Linked DNA regions of Homo sapiens: all the other regions are linked to region 1. Evidence: promoter capture Hi-C in human tissues and cell types (Jung and others, 2019). All regions are on one chromosome and are shown on one strand. The core of a region is centred on a gene start or on the middle of the fragment in contact, and the rest is flanking DNA. Distances in the headings are between cores, read along the strand shown. Region 1 holds the start of MC5R (melanocortin 5 receptor). Region 2 has its middle 120 kb from the start of POTEC. Region 3 holds the start of LOC105372003 (a long non-coding RNA gene). Region 4 has its middle 150 kb from the start of POTEC.

Evidence for each region. Contacts are between HindIII fragments. The study calls those that stand out against the background at their distance.
Region 2: a fragment that was not itself captured here is called in contact with the fragment with the promoter of MC5R in region 1 in 1 of the 25 tissues and cell types used here (dorsolateral prefrontal cortex).
Region 3: a contact is called between a fragment that was not itself captured here and the fragment with the promoter of MC5R in region 1, in 2 of the 25 tissues and cell types used here (lymphoblastoid cells and spleen).
Region 4: a fragment that was not itself captured here is called in contact with the fragment with the promoter of MC5R in region 1 in 1 of the 25 tissues and cell types used here (dorsolateral prefrontal cortex).

The regions. Positions count from the first base shown.
Region 1 is chr18:13,822,420-13,825,934 of GRCh38, reverse strand. MC5R (melanocortin 5 receptor) reads right to left here and starts at 1,786. Exons shown (of 2, transcript NM_005913.3): 1 at 1,661-1,786; 2 at 1-208. The coding sequence starts at 169. RefSeq lists silencers at 1,582-1,671, 1,682-1,971, 1,937-2,117. The HindIII fragment of the contact is 21,381 bases long and covers 1-3,515 here.
Region 2 is chr18:14,424,425-14,427,939 of GRCh38, reverse strand. No RefSeq gene overlaps it. Among named protein-coding and RNA genes, the nearest start is that of POTEC, 120 kb to the left of the region's middle. The HindIII fragment of the contact is 3,526 bases long and covers 1-3,470 here.
Region 3 is chr18:14,408,116-14,411,630 of GRCh38, reverse strand. LOC105372003 (a long non-coding RNA gene) reads left to right here and starts at 3,299. Exons shown (of 2, transcript XR_001753364.3): 1 at 3,299-3,515. The HindIII fragment of the contact is 5,013 bases long and covers 1-3,515 here.
Region 4 is chr18:14,391,868-14,395,382 of GRCh38, reverse strand. It overlaps the pseudogene FEM1AP2. Among named protein-coding and RNA genes, the nearest start is that of POTEC, 150 kb to the left of the region's middle. The HindIII fragment of the contact is 3,708 bases long and covers 1-3,515 here.

The sequences.
Region 1 (3,515 bases), core at 537-3,036:
CCAAGATGTTCTCCAAGAGGCTGATGACACCCAGAGTGAGAAACACCTCCACAGCAATGCCCATGTCTTCACATGGTGAAGACTTGTTTTTGACATTGGGTCCTGAAAGGTTGCCCTCTGTGGCATTCAGGTTGAGATCCAAGAAATGCAGGTGAAATGAGGAATTCATTGCTGGAGAAATACACCTCTTGTCTTGGCAGCAAATTTACTGTAAAACATGTTTTAAATTCACAATCCAAAGAGGTTAGCAGCCTACCAAAGAAAGACAGCAGCTAGCCTAGAACCAACACAGCCTAAGAAAGGGGATGAATGACACAGTGCATCAGAGGACTGGGCTCGGCTCACTCAGTCCTTTTTTTTTTTTTTTTTTAAGAGACAGGGTCTCCCTATGTTGCCCAGTCTGGTCTCAAACTCCTGGCCACAAGCGATCTTCTCTCTCAGCCTCCCAAAGTGCTGGTACTACAGGGGTGAGCCACGTGCCCGGCAGCTGGCTTGCACATTCTGACCTGCGTTCCTGAGACCTGGAAGAGTGCCCCTGGACACGCAGATTAGAATCTTCACCAGCCTCTTCTGCTCTCCTTGCTTTCAGCTCCCAGCCTTTCACATGCATCTTACTAGAGAGACACTCACCTCCAAGTGCCCAGGACAGTTTCACTTTTTATGGCTTCTCTCCTGGGCTCAAGTTCACTATCATAAGTGTCCCCAACTCATAACCTACAAAATCCCAGCCAGTCTCCCAATGTTCACATTCCTAAGGCTACTGCACGACATTCTCCTCAAGGGAGCTCCGATTTAAGACTGCCCAGACCCGTATTCCCTTAAGACAGACAGACAGGTGCATCCCTAACACTTGTCCTGACACTTCTTAGACCCATCAGGATTCAGCCTCCACAGCTGTAAGTAAGGCTATAACCAGAATGGTCTGTTACCCTGAGCAAAGTCACATGTTAAAAGCTACTGTCTTAAGTTTGTAAGTGTAGGCTGCACATACGTGTTAAAATTGAGGAAAACAGTGCTGCTTTTCCCTCAATACCTATTTTTCCCTCGCTTCTGCATTATGTGGAATTCCATGAGGTCTGCTTGATAGTTTATTAGGTCCGCGTGAGCACAGTATTTAAAAAAAAAAACAGCAATTTAAATGTACCACACTCCTTTGTTGCAAAATTTCTCTCTTATGATTCATTTTCAAAAATCCCTTTGCCCTCCAAACTCAGATCACATCTGGAGAGAATTTCTGTCATCACTGTCATCATTAATATTTGTAATCACTTTGGGAGGGAGGGAGGGGGTGAGGGACAACAAATTACTTAATAGGTACAATGTACACTATAGGGGTGATGGCTACACTAAAAGCCCAGTCTCCACCACTATGCAATACATCCATATAACAAAACAGCACCTGTACCCCCTAAATCTATAAAAATAAAAAAGGAAAAAATTGGTAATCTAAGCATTTATTGAACTACAATCATTTGTTACAGCTGAGTTCCAGCTCAGATATATCGGTAAATTATGCAATTATACTAAACATCATATCGAGCTGTGTTAAAAACTCACGGGGCAAGCTAGCTGCCGCCCCGCTCACTTCCACATGCAGCGGAAGCGCGATTTTGCATTTATTCTCAGGATCTCAAGGAGATAGAAAGTTGTGGCTATTTACCGGTGCTCCTCCTCGCGGGCCGCGGCGCTCAGCCCGGGCCCCCGGCGTCCCCGGGATCCGACGGCCGTGCGGCGCTCAGAGCCAGCCCCGGACGGGCCTCTCCCCCAGCTAGGCGGCTGCGGCTCTGCGGGGCTTTAAGCCTCCTGCCTGCCCGCGCCGGGCCCGCCTCCGCACCGCCGGCTGTCGCTCCGGGCGGCCTCCGCTGCCACCTAGTGGCCCAGCACGGCACAGCGGCCAGAGAACCGCGTCAGCCCCGAGCGAAAATCCCCCCGAACACACTCTTGAATGGTTGGATGGTTGCTTGGTTGGTTGGTTGGTCGGTCGGGTCGGTGGGTCGGTCGGTCGGTCGGTCGGTCGGTTGAATGGTTGGTTGGGTGAGTGGTTGCTTGGTTGGGTAGTTGGTTGGTTGAGTGGGTGGGTGGGTGGTTGCTTGTTTGGTGATTGGTTGGTTGGGTGAGCAGGTGGTTGCTTGCTTGGTTGGTTGGGTGGTTACGGGTTAGTTAGTTGGGTAGGTGGGTGGTTGCCTGATTGGTTGATTGGTTGATTGGTTAGGTGAGTGGATGGTTACTTGGTTGCTTGGCTGGTTGGGTGGGGGGTTCGTTGATTGGGTAGGTGGGTGGTTCCTTGGTTGGTTGATTGGTTGGTTGGGTAGGTGGGTGGTTGCTTGGTTGGTTGATTGGTTGGTTGGGTAGGTGGGTGGTTGCTTGGTTGAGTGAGTAGATGGTTACTTGGTTGCTTGCTCGCTTGCTCGCTTGCTTGGGTGGGTGGGGGGTAGTTGGTTGGGTAGGTGGGTGGTTGCTTGGTTCGTTGATTGGTTGCTTGGGTGGGTGGGTGGTTGGTTGGGTGAGTGGATGGTTGCTTGGTTGGTTGATTGGGTAAGTGGGGGTTGGTTGGGTAGGTGGGTGGTTGCTTGGTTGGTTGGTTGGGTCAGTGGGTGGGTGGGTGGTGGGTGGTTGCTTGGTTGGTTGGTTGGGTCAGTGGGTGGGTGGGTGGGTCGTTGGGTGGGTGGTTGCTTGGTTGGTTGGTTGGGTCAGTGGGTGGGTGGATGGGTGGTTGGGAGGGTGGTTGGTTGGTTGGTTGGTTGGCTGGGTCAGTGGGTGGATGGATGGGTGGTTGGGTGAGTGGTTGCTAGGTTGGTTGGGTCAGTGGGTGGGTGGATGGGTGGTTGGGTGGGTGGTTGCTTGGTTTGGTTGGTTGGGTCAGTGGGTTGGGTGGATGGGTGGTTGTGTGGGTGGTTGGTTGGTTGGTTGGTTGGGTCGGTGGGTGGATGGATAGGTGGTTGGGTGGGGGAGTGGTTGGTTGGGTCAGTGGGTGGGTGGATGGGTGGTTGGGTGGGTAGCTGCTTGGTTGTTTTTCTGGCTGGTTGCACTTTTTGTTTCTTTTCTCTTCCTCTTGAGCACTGATTAAAATGCTCCCGAGCTCAAAGAGGGCTTGTCACCCCGTTTCTCCTGGACAGTGGTCTCTGGGATGTCCTGATGATTGTTCTTTGGGAAGGAGGCCCAGTGCCTGGGAGCCCTCATCTGTGGCCCTACCACGCCCCTCTTTGCCCAAGGCTCTCACCCCTCCTCCAGGACTACACATGCCATGCCAGGCTTTATCAACCACACAGGCTTTCCTTACTCCAGCAAAAAAGAACAAAGGATGTCCTCTCACCAAATATCCTGGCCTTTCGCAATAGTTTCTGGACCCCACTCCTTCTCTGACACCTAAAACTGACCTTCAACCCCCAAAAGAATCATTATACTCACAATAAGCAGAAGTGCCACTGCCCTGCAAGCCAGGGCAGGATGCACGGGGCCATATCACTACCAGAGCTTTCCTTGGGCTTTGCAGATGATCACAACCTTCCAGTATT
Region 2 (3,515 bases), core at 458-2,957, 600 kb before region 1:
AACTGGACAGAGAATGACTTTGATGAGTTGACAGAAGTAGGCTTCAGAAAGTCAGTAATAACAAACTTCTCTGAGCTAAAGGAGCATGTTCTAACCTACTGGAAGGAAGCTAAAACTCTTGAAAACAGGTTAGATAATGGCTAACTAGAATAAATAGTGTAAAGAAGACCTTAAATGACCTGACGGAGATGAAAACCACAGCATGAGAACTTCGTGACGCATGCACAAGCTTCAATAGCTGATTCAATCAAGTGGAAGAAAGGATATCAGTGATTGAAGATCAAATTAATGAAATAAAGTGAGAAGACAAGATTAGAGAAAAAAGAGTAAAAAGTAATGAACAAAGCCTCCAAAAAATATGGGACTATGTGAATAGACCAAATCTACATTTGATTGGTGTACCTGAAAGTGACAGGGAGAATGGAACCAAGTTAGAAAACATTCTTCAGGATATTATCCAGGAGAATTTCCCCAACCTGGCAAGGCAGGCCAACATCCAAATTCAGGAAATACAGAGAATACAACAAAGATACTCCACGAGAAGAGCAACTCCAAGACACATAATTGTCAGATTCACCAAGGTTGAAATGAAGGAAAAAATGTTAAGGGCAGCCAGAGAGAAAGGTCGGGTTACCCACAAAGAGAAAACCATCAGACTAACAGCGGAACTCTCAGCAGAAACCCTACAGGCCAGAAAAGAGTGGGGGCCAATATTCAACATTCTTAAAGAAAAGAATTTCCAACCCAGAATTTCATATCCAGCCAAACTACACATCATAAGTGAAGGATAAATAAAATCCTTTACATACAAGCAAATGCTGAGAGATTTTGTCACCATCAGGCCTGCCTTACAAGAGCTCCTGAAGGAAGCGCTAAACATGGAAATGAACAACTGGTACCAGCCACTGCAAAAATATGCCAAATTGCAAAGGCCATCAGCACTATGAAGAAATTACATCAACTAAGGGGCAAAGTAACCAGCAAACATAATAATGACAGGATCAAATTCACATATAACACTATTAAATGTAAATGGGCAAAATGCCCCAATTAAAAGACACAGACTTGCAAATTGGATAAACAGTCAAAACCATCAGTGTGCTGTATTCAGGAGGCCCATCTCACATGCAGAGACACACATAGGCTCAAAATAAAGGGATGGAGGAAGATCTACCAAGCAAATGGAAAGCAAAAAAAGCAGGGGTTGCCATCCTAATCTCTGATAAAACAGACTTTAAACCAACAAAGATCAAAAGAGACAAAGAAGGTCATTACATAATGGTAAAGGGATCAATTGAACAAGAAGAGCTAACTATTCTAAATATATATGCACCTAATACAGGAGCACCCAGATTCGTAAAGCAAGTCCTTAGAGACCTACAAAGAGACTTAGACTCTGATGCAATAATAATGGGAGACTTCAACACCCCACTCTCAATAGTAGATCAATGAGACAGAAGCTTAGCAAGGATATCCAGGACGTGAACTCAGCTCTGCACCACATGGACCTAAATAGATATCTACAGAATTCTCCACCCCAACTCTACAGAATATATATTCTTCTCAGCACCACATCACACTTATTCTAAAATTGACCACATAATTGGAGGTGAAACATTCCTCAGCAAATGTAAAAGTACAGAAATCACAACAAACTGTCTCTCAGACCACAGTGCCATCAAATTAGAACTCAGGATTAAGAAACTCACTCAAAACTGCACAATGCATGGAAACTGAAGAACCTGTTCCTGAGTGACTACTGGATAAAAAATGAAATGAAGGCAGAAATAAAGATATTCTTTGAAACAACATACCAGAATCTCTGGGACACATGTAAAGCAGTGTGTAGAGGGAAATTTATAGTACTAAATGCCCACAAGAGAAAGCAGGAAAGATCTAAAATCAACAGCCTAACATCAAAATTAAAAGAACTGGAGAAGCCAGAGTAAACAAATTCAAAAGCTAGCCGAAGGCAAGAAATAACTAAGATCAGAGCAGAACTGAAGGAGATGGAGACACAAAAAACCGTTCCAAAAATCAGTGAATCCAGGAAGTGGTTTTTTGAAAAGATCAACAAAATAGATAGACTGCTAGCAAGACTAATAAAGAAGAAAAGAGAGAAGAATCAAATATGCTCAATAAAAATGATAAAGGGGATATCACCACCAATCTCACAGAAATATAAACTACCACCAGAGAATACTATAAACACCTCTATGAAAATAAACTAGAAAATCTAGAAGAAATGGATAAATTCCTGGACATACACACCCTCCCAAGACAGAACTAGGAAGAAGTTGAATCTCTGAATAGACCAATAACAGGTTCTGAAATTGAGGCAATAATTAATAGCATACCAACCAAAAAAAGTCCAGGACCAGACGGATTCACAGCCGAATTCTACCAGAGGTACAAAGAGGAGCTGGTACCATGCCCTCTGAAACTATTCCAATCAACAGAAAAAGAGGGAATCCTCCCTAACTCATTTTATGAGGCCAACATCATCCTGATACCAAAGCCTGGCAGAGACACAACAAAAAAAGAGAAATTTAGACCAATATCCCTGATGAACATCAATGCGAAAATCCTCAATAAAATACTGGCAAACCAAATCCAGCAGCACATCAAAAACTTATCCACCATGATCAAGTGGGCTTCATCCCTGGGATGCAAGGCTGGTTCAACATACACAAATTAATAAATGTAATCCATCACTTAAACAGAACCAATGTCGAAAACCGCATGATTATCTCAATAGATGCAGAAAAGGCCTTTGACAAAATTCAACAGCCCTTCATGCTAAAAACTCTCAATGAACTAGGTATGATGGAATGTATCTCAAAATAATAAGAGATATTTAAAACAAACCCACAGCCAACACCATATTGAATGGGCAAAAACTGGAAGCATTCCCTTTGAAAACCACCACAAGACAGGGATGCCCTCTCTCACCACTCCTGTTCAACACAGTGTTGGAAGTTCTGGCCAGGGCAATCAGGCAAGAGAAAGAAATAAAGGGTATTCAATTAGGAAATGAGGAAGTCCAATTGTCCCTATTTGCAGATGACATGATTGTATATTTAGAAAACCCCATCGTCTCAGCCCAAAATCTCCTTAAGCTGATAAGCAAGTTCAGCAAAGTCTCAGGATACAAAATTAATGGGCTAAAATCATAAGCATTCCTATAATGTTGCCAGAAGTCAGGGACCCCAAACAGAGGGACCAGCTGGAGCCACAGCAGAGGAACATAAATTGTGAAGATTTCATGGACATTTATCAGTTCCCAAAATTAATACTTTTATAATTTCTAACACCTGTCTATACTGCAATCTCTGAACATAAATTGTGACAATTTCAGGGACATTTATCAGTTCCCATGTAGCACTCTTTGAATTTCTTATGCCTGTCTTTACTTTAATCTCTTAATCCTGTTATCTTCCTAAGCTGAAAATGTACGTCACCTCAGGACCACTATTGTACAAATTGATTGTAGAACATGTGTGTTTGAACAATAT
Region 3 (3,515 bases), core at 367-2,866, 590 kb before region 1:
GGTGGCTCATGCCTGTTATCCCAGCACTTTGGAAGGCTGAGGCAGGCGGATCAAGAGGTCAGGAGTTTGAGACCAGCCTGGCCAATATAGTGAAACCTCATCTCTACTAAAAATACAAAAACTAGCCAGGTTTGGTGGCAGGTGCCTGTAATCCCAGCTACTCAGGAGGCTGAAGCAGGAGGATTGCTTGAACCCAGGAGGCAGAGGTTGCAGTAAGCTGAGATCATGCCACTGCATTCCAGCCTGGGTGACAGAGGAAGACTCAGTCTCAAAAAAAAAAAAAGTCTCAGTTGCAGGCCTTCGGAAGCAAAGCACAAAGCAGCTGGAAGAGGCTTACAGAAAGAGCAAAAGAATGTGGGGTATCTGTGTGTGCTGTCAACAGTGCTCACTATTACTGTGAATGAATATCTGTGTCCCCCCAGAATTCATATATTGAAGCCTAACCCCCAAGTTGATGATATTTGGAGGTGGGGCCTTGGGGAGGTGATTAGGTCATGAATGTGGAGCCCTCATAGGTGTGATTCCTGCCCTTATAAGAAAAGATGATCTCTCTCTCCACCATCTAAGGATACAAGAAGACAGCATCTGCAAACCAGGAAGGGGGTCTTCACCAGTCACAGTCTGCTGACACCCTGACCCTGGACTATCCTAGGCTCCAGAACTCCAGAAATCAATCTCTGTTGTTTAAATCACTCAGTCTATGATATCTTGTTATAGCAGCCCAAACTGACTAAGACAATTATACATGTCAAAATCCTTTCTAATCTGTGGATCTGGGCTTTGCAACTTTGCATGTCTCACAGCCAGCAGAGGATTCTATTATTAATGGTAATCCATGTCGAATTTAATACTATAAGAATTTTTCATAAAATCAATTTGTTTTTAACCTTTTGGCTATCAAACTAGTTGTAATTTGAAATCCAAGACAATTAAATCTTTGTAAAATGTGGGTCTTTTTGTAAGATGACTTTAACCACAGAGAAAATGTAAAATTTTAGGAAGGGTAAGACATGTAGTTAGCACTGAGATTACTATGTGAGGCCTAATGTCATCTATGTGTAAGGCAATCATCAGTGTTACATTTCATTAGAAAGATGGCTTTTAAAAAACAACTAGCGCCAAGGTGGACAGATCACCTGAGGTCAGGAGTTCGAGACCAGCTTGCCCAGCATGGTGAAACCCCATCTCTATTAAAATTCCAAAACATTAGCCGGGTGTGGTGGCAGATGCCTGTAATCCCAGCTACTTGGGAGGCTGAGGCAGGAGACTCGCTTGAACCCAGAAGGCAGAGGTTGCAGTGAGCTGAGATTGCTCAACTGTACTCCAGCCTGGGCGACAAGAGTGAAACTCCGTTAAAAAAAAAAAAAAAAAAGAAAACTAGCCAGCTTCACAATGGAGGCAGTTCCATAATTTGTTGGGATTTTGGAATGGCAGTGAGCTACATATCTTTTCTTTCATGTTCTAACATATAGAAAACAAACTAAGTCTTTGTATATTAGCTAACTCAGCAGAACAGTCTGTGGGAGATTATATTGATCTTGAATACACAGTGCACACGTATTGGATATTGATGCATAATTTGGGTCTAATTTCTTCTCGTATCTAAATACCCGTAAACCTTTAGAACGGTTTAAATGTACAGGCTCAGAATGACTTTAATAGGGCCTTTAAAATTTATATTTATATATTTAAATAAGTGCTGATGGCACTGTTGTTTATAATATTAGGTTTCTTGCTGACCTCTCAGAATTTTCCTTAGAGCCTGAGACAGGCCGACTGGTTGGTTCCCTATCTTAAGATTGTCTGAAGGAAAAGGATAAAAGCCCCTCTACTCAAGCTCTAGCTTGTCTAACTCTCAGCCAATCAGCAATAAAAGACCAAGGAAGCTATTAATTGCAAATTTCTATTTCAGGGGGCTAGAGGCTTTCCCAGAGTCCCATATGTGGAGTCAGACTTAAACTCCAACCTAAAGTTATCTTTTCCTCATTTTAACACTAAAGTTCATGCCCAGGGGTGGAGATTTAAAATGCTAATGCTACATGAAATGTATGAAGAAACATGTTGAGCCATTGTGCAGGTGCTAGCAAAACTCCCCCTATACATTCCCTGAGGGAATCCTTCCCTATGGAAAGACCCTATACCTAACCGAACCACACAGTATCTTCGGGGAACAGCCCACTCCTTTTTGTTCTCTCATGACTGGCTCCCTGAGAGGTAATAAACTCTCTTCATTGCTGCCTCTGGTGATCTCTCTTGATTTCTATCCTGGGAAATCACAAGATCCCAGGGCACTGTTAAGAAGCTTATCACAGATTCTTTGAATTTCTTCAGTGGTTCTGAAACAAGAGTGTTCCCTTGACCCCTTTGCGGGACTTGTGACATGAGTGACTTGTTTACTTGTTTACCATGCTGAATCCCTTATGGAAGGAAGCACATGAGTGGATGGGTGTGGGACCCAGAGCAAATGAATGTGGAACTGGCCTGTGGCTCCTCTCCGGCGGGAGCAAGCTTTGTGTGGGTTCTGCAGCAGTGTCAAAGTGTGTTACAATGGTCTTTTAGCTCTGCGGTCTGGGAGGGGCTGTCTGCGACCCCCAGAGCCCCAGAGGGCCTGTGTTACAATCAGTGCTCCTTTAACATTTGCTGTCTGTGGATGGCTAAGTGTTAACCAGCTCAGTGGAAGGTGAGGGTGACAGCCTTTTACACTTTGCTGTCTTGGTACCTGAGTTCTGATCCAGTGTCCAGGAAGAATCAGGTCACATGAACAAATTGAAGATGGTGAATGTGGAGGACTTTATTGAGTGGTAAAAGTGGGCCTCAGTAGGAAAGGGAGCTGGAAAGGGGATGGAGCAGGAAGATAATCTTCCCCTGAAGCCCAGATGTCTCCAGCTGAACTCCTCTCTGACCATAGTCCCTGACCTCCAGCTGCTTCTTCTCATCTCAATATCCAGACACTTCTCTCTTCTGTGTGTGTGTCCACTGAGTCTGGGGCTTGGGATTCTTATGGGCACAGGATAGGGGGTGGTGTGGGGTGGGCCAAAAGGCAACAATCAGGTGGGAAAACAGGGATAGTTCTCACTTTGGGCTGTGGGTCCAGGCTTGTGGGTGGAGCCCTTGCCAAAGATCCTGCCCTCTTCTACCAGTATTTGCCTGCCTTCTGTCCATTTCAGTTCAAGACAGTTTGTGCAATTTGGAAACAGCCAGATCTAAACAGTGTAAAATCTGGATAGTCAGGCAGAATAAGGCTGGAAAAAATATATAATTATATAGAATAAAGCTGAAAAAATTCGCTGAGTAATACTCTGTGTGTGCACCTACATGCACATGTAACAAAGTGATAATTTCTATTTCCTTAGATGTTTCAAAATGTATCTTGAACATATGACAAATATTTAATGTTTTCTGGGTGACTACATTGAAGCCTACCACTCACTTGGGACAGAAAAGTCATTTTTTGGTGTGTGATTATACTTGCTATCTTATGGTCACAACTTTTAAAACTACATAGAAGCATTAAT
Region 4 (3,515 bases), core at 457-2,956, 570 kb before region 1:
AAAAAGATAACAATAGTTTTTAGAGCCTCATTCAAATCCGCATATCTACAATAGTGTATCAATTTGGGATGGCCAAAGTTATAGATAATTTGGATAAATAAAATAGGGGCTCAGCAGTAAAATAATGACTGTATCTCCAAAAGCTTTAAGATTAAATGAAAAGAAGAAAAGACTAAAGGCAGATCAAGCTATCATGCTGACTACAGACATAGCAAAGGCTTTCCACAGAAAGAGAAAATAGATTAGTCTTGTTTTACTCTGGTCAACAAAGGGTAGAATTATAGAAATGGAGATTGCAGCTGCATATAGATAGAATTGTTAAGACTCATAGCTATTCCAACATCTTTGCTTAGGGGGCCATAGGGAGTGCCAACATCGAGTATCAGAACAAACTAGATGAATGCCAAAATCTCTTACATTCTAAGGTTATATGAGAAAGTGATTTTGATGCCAAAGAGTAAATATTCCACAAATTCCAAACCTCCTTCCAGGCATATATATTCGGGTGGCACCTGCTTTAAGAAGTCTCCCTTAATCTGAGAACACAGTTTGCTTGTGCTTCTAATACTTTGACCATATATTGTCTTTTGTCATCTTTTGACCATATTGTACATTTATGTATTATTTAGCTTTGTGTTGTTATGTCTTATCTAAAACCAAGGTTCTTCTTTTAGGAATACATGTTATTTTATCCTCTATGACACCTAGCACAATACAATGAAGTTAGTAGATACTCAGATAATATCTGTAGTCTGAACCTATTTCCTTATCTAAAAAGTAAGGAATAAAAACACCCATTTTACCTGCCTCACTGAGCTGTTTTGAAGATCAGATGAAATAATGTGCCTGAAAGCACTTTGAAAAGTATAAAATGTTATACAAATGTAAGGCATTCTAATTTCAGAGGGAGGTTTTTCTCAGTTATAACCTCCATGTCAGCTTGAATAAAGGAACATTTTTTAAAACTTAATCTGAAAAGAAACTTGTCCCTTCTGGGCACAAATTATAAAACTCCCCAAAAAATGTTTGTATATATTTTTGTTTGTTTGTTCCTAAATAGTATAATGAACTATGGTCTTTCAGGGAAAATGTTGCTCTGATACTAGTCACAATGTAGAAAATTGCCCTTATGTACTTTCAGGAAAGAATTGCAAACAAATGAGCTATTTTCTCTTCTCGAGTAAAGGGACTTCCCAAGCATGGGTGGCAGCTGTTCAAGTCCATCTGGTCAAGAATTCACTAAGATCATAATGTGAAAGTTGCTCAAGTGCAGATTTGCATGACAGCCTGCAAATGTTCCTTTGGAGACGAAATGGTTTCTCAGGTCAATAATCTGCATATTTAAAAGTCTCTAGGACACCCTAAGATGGCGGCGAGGGAGACCGTGAAGGTTGGCTCCCGCCTGTCTGGGCTGTGATCCTCTGTCTCCCCCTCCCCCTGCGGCCGGCTCATGGCCTGGCGCAGGCCCGAACCAAAGACCCCCGCACCGCCGTGTACAACGCCGCCCGTGACGGCAAGCTGCAGCTGCTCCAGAAGCTGCTCAGCGGCCGGAGCCGGGAGGAACTGGACGAGCTGACTGGCTAGGTGGCCGGCGGGGGGACGCCTCTGCTCATCGCCGCCTGCTACGGCCACCTGGACGTGGTGGAGTACCTGGTGGACCCGTGCGGCGCGAGCGTGGAGGCCGGTGGCTCGGTGCACTTCGATGGCGAGACCATGGAGGGTGCGCCGCCGCTGTGGGCGCGGACCACCTGGACGTGGTGGGGAGCCTGCTGCGCCGCGGGGCCTCGGTGAACCGCACCACGCGCACCAACTCCACGCCCCTCCGCGCCGCCTGCTTCGAGGGCCTCCTGGAGGTGGTGCGCTACCTGGTCGGCGAGCACCAGGCCAACCTGGAGTTGGCCAACCGGCACGGCCACACGTGCCTCATGATCTCGTGCTACAAGGGCCACCGTGAGATCGCCCGCTACCTGCTGGAGCAGGGCGCCCAGGTGAACTGGCGCAGCGCCAAGGGCAACACGGCCCTGCACAACTGTGCCGAGACCAGCAGCCTGGAGATCCTGCAGCTGCTGCTGGGGTGCAAGGCCAGCATGGAACGTGATAGCTACGGCATGACCCCGTTGCTCCCGGCCAGCGTGACGGGCCACACCAACATCGTGGAGTACCTCATCCAAGAGCAGCCCGGCCAGGAGCGGGTCACAGGGGTAGAGGCTCAGCCTGGGCTGCCCCAAGAAGGCTCCTCCACCAGCCAGGGGTGTACGCAGCCTCAGGGGGCTCCGTGCTGCATCTTCTCCCCTGAGGTACTGAACGGGGGAATCTTACCAAAGCTGCTGTCCCACCAGCTGGGAAGCTGCCGTGGAAGCCTTGAAATTGCTGGGATCTACGTATGTGGATAAGAAACGAGATCTGCTTGGGGCCCTTAAACACTGGAGGCGGGCCATGGAGCTGCGTCACCAGGGGGGTGAGTACCTGCCCAAACTGGAGCCCCCATAGCTGGTCCTGGCCTATGACTATTCCAGGGAGGTCAACACCACCGAGGAGCTGGAGGCGCTGATCACCGACCCCGATGAGATGCGTATGCAGGCCCTGTTGATCCGGGAGCGCATCCTCAGTCCCTCGCACCCCGACACTTCCTATTGTATCCGTTACAGGGGCGCCGTGTACGCCGACTCGGGCAATATCGAGTGCTACATCCGCTTGTGGAAGTATGCCCTGGACATGCAACAGAGCAACCTGGAGCCTCTGAGCCCCATGACCGCCAGCAGCTTCCTCTCCTTCGCCGAACTCTTCTCCTACGTGCTGCAGGACCGGGCTGCCAAAGGCAGCCTGGGCAGCCAGATCGGCTTTGCAGACCTCATGGGGGTCCTCACCAAAGGGGTCCGGGAAGTGGAATGGGCCCTGCAGCTGCTCAGGGAGCCTAGAGACTCGACCCAGTTCAACAAGGCGCTGGTCATCATCCTCCACCTGCTCTACCTGCTGGAGAAAGTGGAGTGCACCCCCAGCCAGGAGCACCTGAAGCACCAGACTATCTACCGCCGCTCAAGTGCGCACCCAAGGGCAAGAACGGCTTCACCCCTCTGCACATGGCTGTGGACAAGGACACCACAAACGTGGGCCGCTACTCCGTGGGCAGATTCCCCTCCTTGCACGTGGTCAAAGTGCTGTTCGACTGCGGGGCCGACCGGGACAGCAGGGATTTTGACAACAACACCCCGCTACACATAGCAGCCCAGAACAACTGCCCGGCCATCGTGAATGCCCTGATTGAAGCAGGGGCCCACATGGACGCCACCAACGCCTTCAAGAAGACGGCCTACACGCTGCTGGAAGAGAAGCTGCTGGCCAGGGGTACCATGCAGCCCTTCAGCTATGTGACCCTGCAGTGCCTTGCAGCCCAGGCCCTGGGTAAGAACAAGATCCCTTACAAGGGCTTCATCCCGGAAGATCTAGAGGCATTCATCGAACTGCACTGACCTGCCCAGAACATCTGCACCCTCACCTCTCCCCTCTCCTGCTGA